2 separate regions of the Homo sapiens genome follow, and region 2 is linked to region 1. Evidence: promoter capture Hi-C in human tissues and cell types (Jung and others, 2019). All regions are on one chromosome and are shown on one strand. The core of a region is centred on a gene start or on the middle of the fragment in contact, and the rest is flanking DNA. Distances in the headings are between cores, read along the strand shown.

Region 1 (4,290 bases), core at 1,328-3,827:
CTGACTTCTCCATACAGAAGTGACCTCCTTTTCCTTAATGTCTACTGTGTACCATATTCAGACTTCCAACATGGTACTTACAATTCATGTTGTATATAATAGTTAAAATCAAAGTCTATCTCCCTCCATTAGCCTTAGATTCCCTGAGGACAGGAATTCTTTTTATTTTTTTTTTTTTTGGAGACGAGTCTCACTCTGTCACTCAGGCTGGAATGCAATGGTGCAATCTCGGCTCACTGCAACCTCCGCCTCCCGGGTTCAAGTGATTCTCCTGCCTCAGCCTCCCAAGTAGCTGGGATTACAGGAAAATGCCACCATACCCAGCTAATTTTTGTTTTTTTTTTTTTTTTTTTTTTTTTTTAGTAGAGATAGGAATTCTTATTCACCCTTGAACTTTCAGAGCCTTGCTACAGGATCAGAATTTCCAGCGATGGGGCTTAGGCAAGTGTTTTGACAATGTTCCTCAGGTGATTCTAACTATCCTATGTTAACTGCACGAAAACGTAAACTCTTTCACATCAGGAATCATCATTACGCAGCACAATGTAAGTGCTCAATAAATGCTTTACTAAATTGAACTGAAACAGAGAAGTCTGGAAGATGAGGGAGAAGAGTTTGGAGCTAAAGATTTGGAGGCATCAGGATGTAAGATGGTGTGAGTGCAGTGAGAGGAGGAAGGAAGCCAGGAAGGACTTCTTGATGACCCTTTCACTGTAACCACAGAAGACTCAATTACATGTGTTTTCCTTAGGACTTGAGTTCCTTAAGGGTCGGGAACTCTCCATCCTACTCATCTCTGTAAGCCTGGCGCTAAGCACAGTGCATGGTACATGTTAGGAGCTCAGTAACCTTTTATTGATCTTTTATTGAGCTGTATCAGTGCCCCTGGTAATAGAGGGGGGTAAAAAACTTCAGGGACACACAGGAAGAAGTGACTAACTTGGCATAGGAAGCTGGATACATTGATTTTCAGAGGGACAATTAAGCTCAGTCTTCAAAGAGAAGTTCGCTTGGCAGAGCAGTGTCAAGATCTTCCAAGCAGAAGGAACAGCAGGAACTAAGTACTGAGATATGAAAGAGGGCAGCCACAATCTTTCCACGTGGCCAGGAGTCAGGTGCGTAAGAGATTTACAAAATGAGATTGAGAGGGTCAGGGCCAGACTGAGAGGCCACAGACACCCACCTACGGATTTAAGGCTAACTGTGGGTGGTCAAAGAGGAGTTTTAAATTTAACATCAGATGATCTACCTTTACTTTGTACAAAGTACTAGTAGGGCCGGGTGTGGTGGCTCACACCCGTAATCCCAGCACTGTGGGAGGCCGACGCGGGCGGATCATTTGAGGTCAGGAGTTCGAGACCGGCCTGGCCAACATGGTGAAACCCCATCTCTACTAAAAATACAAAAATTAGCCGGGCGTGGTGGCGGGCAGCTGTAATCCCAGCTCCTGGGGAGGCTGAGGCAGGAGAATCGCTTGAACTGGGGAGGCGGAGGTTGCAGTGAGCCGAGATCGGACCACTGCACTCCAGCCTGGGCGACAGAGCCAGACTCCATCTCAAAAACAAAACAAAACAAAACAACCAAAAAAAACAAACAGGCCAGGCGCGGTGGCTCACGCCTATAATCCCAGCACTTTGGGAGGCCGAGGCGGGCGGATCACGAAGTCAGGAGTTTGAGATCATCCTGACCAATAAGGTGAAACCCCCATCTCTACTAAAAAAAATACAAAAATTAGCCGGGCATGGTGGCGCGCGCCTGTAATCCCAGCTACTCAGGAAGCTGAGGCAAGAGAATCGCTTGAACCCGGGAGGCGGAGGTTGCAGTGAGCCGAGATGGCGCCACTGCACTCCATCCTGGGCGACAGAACGAGACTCCGTCTCAAAATAAAATAAAATAAATAAAAAATTGAAAGTACTAGTCGAAGCACGAATGGCAAAGAATTGAGAGGCTCAAGGAAAAAAGCTTCATTAGCGGCTGAGGTCCAGGTGACAAACCCGAACAAGGCAACGAAGGGAGGGAGTGAGAAATCCGTTCCATAAAACCCACGATATAAGTAAAGCGGCCTGTGAATTCCGACCACTGCTGACCGCCAGGCCACACACCGGTTTTTTTCAGGAGGTCTCAACTAGATGCTAAGCTCCGAAGTGGAACTCCCTCAGGCACTTTCTGTTCTAATTCAGGAATTCCAAGCCCCTTTCCATCACAACCCCATCCCGCGGGAGACCCAAGCTGTGCGGAGCAGCGTAGGGCTAAGCCCGCGTCCGGTGAGACCCGGGAACGCGGCGCGGGAGACTAAGGAGCAGAGTACAGAATTGCGCGTGCGCGCCTGCAGCACGAGCCCCGCCCCCTGGCTCTAAACCGGGTGGCGGGAAAAGGGACTCAGCGTTTCCCGAGAATGCCCCCATAGCTTCGAAAGGATCCCCGTGTCCGCTTAGCGCCCTCTCGCCACACACTCACTCACCCGCTCCCTGCGGGTCCTCAGAAGCCCGGAGGAGCCACCGGCCCTCTGGCGCGGGGCCGCAGCCTTTCCGCCACCAGGCTCAGCTGGACCGGTCCCCGCCTGCGCGAAGAGCGAGGCGGGGCGAGCCGGGCTGGTCCACGTGACTCCGAGCGAACTGGGGCGGAGATTGGTGAAGAAGGAAGGAAAAGGGAAGCGAGTGCAGGGACTGTTTTATGTGAGGTCGATCTAAAAATCACAGCGCTATGAATTTTCTGCTGAATTATAGTAGAATCAAAGTCCGATTAGAGGTGAATTTACAAACATTCTTCCCCTTCTTCTAGTCAAGCGGACTATTCCAAGTCTTAAATAGTTAGTTAGAAAAGTTAGGTTTTATTTGGGAGGAAGTAAAGAGCTGAAGTACAGGGAGGAATGGTCTTCTGGGATAGGGGATGTCCGTTGTATTATAGGTATAAATTTAAAGCTTTCAAAGTATGCAAGAGGCTCATAAAAGGAAGAAAGCAACCGTAAATATTCATTGAACAGTTGAGGGTCTCTTCTGGCCTCTGCTGAGATGATCTTGCCAAAAGGAAAAGAAAATAGGGCTGTGCTCTGGCCCCCTGTAATCCCAGCTACTGGGGAGGCTGAAGCAGGAAGATCGCTTGAGCCCAGGATTTCTAGACTGTAGTGTGCGATGATCGTGCCTGTGAATATCCATTGCACTCCAACCTGGTCAACATAGTAAGACCCCCTCTCAAAAAAAAAAAGAAGATAGGGCTCAAACAAATAATAATCTCCTGAATTATTAAGCATTTGAATAGAAGGAATCAATTTCTGGGGTATGAGGGAGTTAGAAGAGATTTGCTTCAAGATGAAAGGACGGATGACAGAGAAATGAAAATACACAGACACAAAACAAGAAAAAAAACACGGAACTAGTGATAAAAGCAGAAAGATGCCATTTGAGGAGTGTTTTGATTTGCTCTAAATAAATTAGAACAGAGTCAAAGCCTCTCCCCTCATGCCCCCTACTACCACCCGTTCATTTATTTGCTCCAGGAATCAGATTTCCTGTGTTGGCCTTAGGGAACAATTGTGGGGCTTAAATACCATCTGCCAGGCAGCCACAACAGTGGATGTCAGGCTGACCAGTTAAGCTGCTTAATTTTTCTAGATTCTAGGCTTGCCCAAGCTCTATTTAGGTTGGAAGCTCTTTGGCCCAGGACCTCTGAAGAGATCCATTATGTCAGAATGAACACAACCAGCCAGCGGATGTAGACAGGTTTACGTGGCTTTACAGAACAGCTAAATCCTAGTGTTCACTTTTCTCAGAGCTACTTCCCCACCCAAGTCCCTGGGGCAAGCATCCCTAAGATAAGTAGGCTATATATTCCCATTAACTTCCCCCCAATTCTTCGGTACACCTACATCCTGATCTGGGGCTAATACTCCGTTTTCACCACCCACCTCCCTTGAGTCCCTTCTCCTAACCCTTGGAAGCCTTGTCTCCTCCACTTCTCTCCATCTGCCTCGTGTGAGGAGTAACTCCCTGCTTCTCTGTTCCCTCAGAAATCAAGAGCCACACACTTGACTGGCAGCAGGGTAAAGGCCAGAAACTTAAGGTGTCGGTTACCCAGTACTCACCATACTGGGTCGAGGAAGGGAGGTATAGGATGGCACCTCTTTTTGCTTCCTTAGCTCTCATGCCCCAAAACTCAGACACAGCCACACTCACATTCATATGCACAATCAGCACACACGGCGAAGGGTGGTGGGATGGGGAGGAAGGGAAGTTTGCACCAACCAGCTCATGAATGCAACTTGAAAGATTTCACACAGCAAAAGGAAAAAAA
Region 2 (3,948 bases), core at 765-3,264, 170 kb after region 1:
GAAAGTTCATTCCTTAGTCTCCAGTTAGGTTCCTTCCAAAGCTTATACCACAGAGCAAGGAGGACACTCTTCACTTCAGAAGTCCTGGAAATACTATGCCTAGAGGGCCAATTTCATCTGATCCTCACCTCTCCTCTCCCCAGTTTTTTGTACACCTCCCCTGGTGTGGAGGATACATGCAACTTCCATCCTATGTGCAGTGGACTATATCCTCCTCAATGATGGGTCACGGTTCATTTTTCCATTCTCTATTTGAATCCAAGAACAAAGTTGTGACCTCCTCTCTGCTGCTCTGGAAAAGCACAGCATATCCTGTTTTTGTAAATATTAATAACAACATGTCGATGGCTCACAGAAATCAGAGAATTAAAAAGAATGGGAAGTTATTTAGTATGTGAGATCAGTTTCTCCACCTGTCTCTTCTGAACTGTCATCAGAACCACAACCACTTCATTTACGAGAAGCTTCCTAGACACATAAAATTGTCTTTGTGCTATGCAATGTGGTCAGCACAATGTAGTGGGCTCTAGGTTCAAATCCCAACTCTACTATTTACTAGCTAGCTGTTTAACCTTGGACAAGTTACTTATACTTGCTGGGCCTAAGTTTCATCATCTGTAACAATTTTTGTACCCACTTTTAAGGACTGGTGAGGATGAAATGAGAAAATCTAAATTAGAGCCCCAGCACAGTGTCTGTCATCCAGCAAGCACTCCATAAACGTTAGTTTTTTTTTTTTCTTCTTGAGACAGAGTCTCACTCTGTCATCCAGAGTGGTGTGCAGTGGCATGATCATAGCTCACTGCAGCCTGGAACTCCTGGGCTCCAGTAATCCTCCTGCCTCAGCTTCCCAAGTAGCTAGGACTACAGGTGCTCACCACCACACCTGGCTAATTTTTAAATTTTTTTGTAGACACAGGGTCTCGCTATGTTGCCCATGATGGTCTCAAATTCCTGGCCTCAAGCAATTCTCCCACCTTGACCTCCCAAAGTGCTGGGATTACAGGCGTGAGCCACCTTACCAGGACTACATTAGCTACTATTATTAGACAAACAGTAAAAGACTGTGTAGTTTTCAAAAAGATAATCAGGCCTGGCCAGGCGCAGTGGTTCACGCCTGTAATCCCAGCACTTTGGGAGGCCAAGGTGGGTGGATCACCTGAAGTCAAGAGTTCGAAACCAGCCTGGCCAACATGGCGAAACCCCATCTCTATTAAAATTACAAAAAATTAGCTGGGCGTGGTGGCGGGCACCTGTAATCCCAGCTACTCAGGAGGCTGAGGCAGGAGAATTGCTTGAATCCAGGAGATGGAGGTTGCAGTGAGCTGAGATCGCACCATTGCACTCTAGCCTGGGTGACAGAGCAACACTCTATCTCCAAAAAAAAAAGATAATCAGGTCTAAACGGTCTACATATAAAATAAATATAATTTAAAACTAGGGATGATCCAGCCAGACTTCCTTATATACAATTTGACTCCTGATTTCAGATGTCACTTAAATATGGGAATTAATTATGTCACAGTATGGGAATACGAAAAACATGTGAACACCTCCTCTCAACAATGAACCTAGGTTTATTTCATTTTAACCTTCCTACTCAAGATGCTTTTCACAATAAACCCTAAAGGTAAACTCTGTCCTCCCATCCAGAGCTAGTAAGAACAGTAAAGCAAAGGAGAGCATCTCCCTTTGAACTAATAGGATTTTCACCAAATGAGAAAAGAAATCAGCCAGTGCCCAACCCCTAGAGTAGCAGATGACTCTCATACCAGGAAGTACATTCATTCAAGCACCCAGCCCAGTCCCAGCTATACATAAATGGATCTTTTAAGAGCTCCTATGTTTCATTTATAAGAGTAAGGGACATTGCCCTATAAGCTTGAAGCAATAAAGCCCTCCCCACAGGGCCGAATAGGTTGCTTTTCTCCCAGTTCCAATCAAAGAGCTGCTACTCTGTGGGCCTGTGACATGGTTTAATAGAAAAAGGCTGACAACACCAAGAGCAGTGGCTCGTGTAATCCCAGCACTTTGGGAGGCCGAGGTGAGCGGATCACGAGGTCAAGAGATCGAGACCATCCTGGCTAACACGGTGAAACCCTGTCTCTACTAAAAATAGAAAAAATTAGCCAGGCGTGGTGGCGGGCACCTGTAGTCCTACCTACTCGGGAGGCTGAGGCAGGAGAATGGCGTGAACCCGGGAGGTGGAGGTTGCAGTGAGCCGAGATCGCGTCACTGCACTCCAGTCTGGGCGACAGAGCGAGACTCCATCTCAAAAAAAAAAAAGAAAAAGGCTGACAATGCACAAAGTGTTGAAATAAATATTATATATTGCAACACTGTTACAGGTGTCCTCCCTGACCAATTCTAACCCTCCAGCCTCTGAGGCTACCCCCCAGGACAACAAGACACATTAACACCCTCCAGCTGGATACTGCAGTGGTCCCTGCAGCTCTTGGGTTCATTCTTCTCATGTAGTACATCAAAATCTCACAAATGGGGTTGGGGGGTGAGAGAGATTTCAAATGTTTATCTTGACTAAACAGCAAAGGCAAATTCTAGAGTAAAAATCACACCACTACATTTTAGCTTTGTAATTGTGAACATCATGAAGGATATTTCTTAACTCTACACATCTCTGGATTACCCACCACACTCTAATACAGAGGTTCTCATCAGGGGCAATTCTGCCCCGTAGGGGACATTTAGTAATCTCTGAAGGTATGTGCTACTGGCATCTAGTAAGCAGAAGCCAAAGATGCTGCTAGGCGTCCTTCAACAAACAGGACAGCGCCCCCCACAACGAAGATATTATCTGGCCCACGTTATCAATAGTGCCAAGGCTGAGAAACCCTGTTCTAATGTAAAAGCTGTCCCATTCCTGCCCCACACCTTGGGAAAGTTCCAAGTTTTCACTGTTCCCAGTTCCTGACACTGCAAATGAGGACGCTTTGGCTTTTGTATCTAAAAACCTCATCTCCCTGGCTAAGCCATGTTCCTCCACCAATAAGAGTTCCATGTAGGCTGGGAGAGGTGGCTCATGCCTATAACCTCAGCAGGATCACTTGAGGCCAGGAATTCAAGACTGGCCTGCGCAACACAGTGAGACCCTATCTCTACACTAAAAAAAAAAAAAAAATTCCAAGTACCAAGCCACAGAATAAATATGCCCTCTTCTCCAATCACGATAACCCATTCTGAGTGCCCTAGTAACAAGCTTCCCTTGAACTCTGACTCGGACAAACTATATCATATACTGACTGAGGCTCAAAATATCCATCCTCTCCTTAACTACCTTCCCTAGTCAGGACTCCAAGTGAGGCAGAACAAAGATAATGAAAGAAGGAAGATTATACTAAGAGGGGGCTACTCAAAGAAAACTGTCACGTCCAGGCTGTTCAGAAGAATTCAAAGATGACTGTTCTCTGTCCTTATTTCTTCTACATTATGTCGGTTCCACAGCATCAGTTGGATATAAGTTCCACCATTATATCCCTAGCACCTAATTTAGTGCTAAGTATACAAAAGAACCAAAGGAAATATTTGTTGAGTCCATGGACTGAAGAAATGAATGAGTAAATCTACCTTTTCTGCCACTACCAGCTTACTTATCCAATGAAGGTCATGGGCTTTGCTCTTACTATTTTCAGAGAACAAAAAAAAAAAAAAAAAACTCAGCTTCATTCTTCACAGAGATAAAAATTTCAAGAGAGAAGAAAGGCCTCAAATCTTGACGTACTTAAATAGCCATTCCTTGAAGAAAATAAGGCCTGAAAATAGGGAAGTACTGATAATGTAAAAAGCCAATAAATTAGCTAGGCATGGTGGCATATGCCTGTAGTGCCAGGTTCTCCGGAGGCTGAGGTGGGAGGATTATTTGAGTCCAGGACCTGGAGGCTGCAGTGGGCTATGATCACACCACCGTTTTCAACCAAATAAAAAAATAAA

The links. Contacts are between HindIII fragments. The study calls those that stand out against the background at their distance.
Region 2: a fragment that was not itself captured here is called in contact with the fragment with the promoter of TIMELESS in region 1 in 2 of the 25 tissues and cell types used here (H1 embryonic stem cells and dorsolateral prefrontal cortex).

What each region holds. Positions count from the first base shown.
Region 1 is chr12:56,446,849-56,451,138 of GRCh38, forward strand. It overlaps TIMELESS (timeless circadian regulator), which reads right to left and starts at 2,578. Exons shown (of 29, transcript NM_003920.5): 1 at 2,462-2,578. MIP (major intrinsic protein of lens fiber) reads right to left here. Exons shown (of 4, transcript NM_012064.4): 4 at 2,654-4,290. RefSeq lists enhancers at 1,459-1,979, 2,002-2,121, 2,232-2,321. The HindIII fragment of the contact is 11,879 bases long and covers 1-3,661 here.
Region 2 is chr12:56,620,962-56,624,909 of GRCh38, forward strand. The region is part of intron 1 of BAZ2A (bromodomain adjacent to zinc finger domain 2A); the gene reads right to left. Among named protein-coding and RNA genes, the nearest start is that of BAZ2A, 7.4 kb to the right of the region's middle. The HindIII fragment of the contact is 4,679 bases long and covers 1-3,948 here.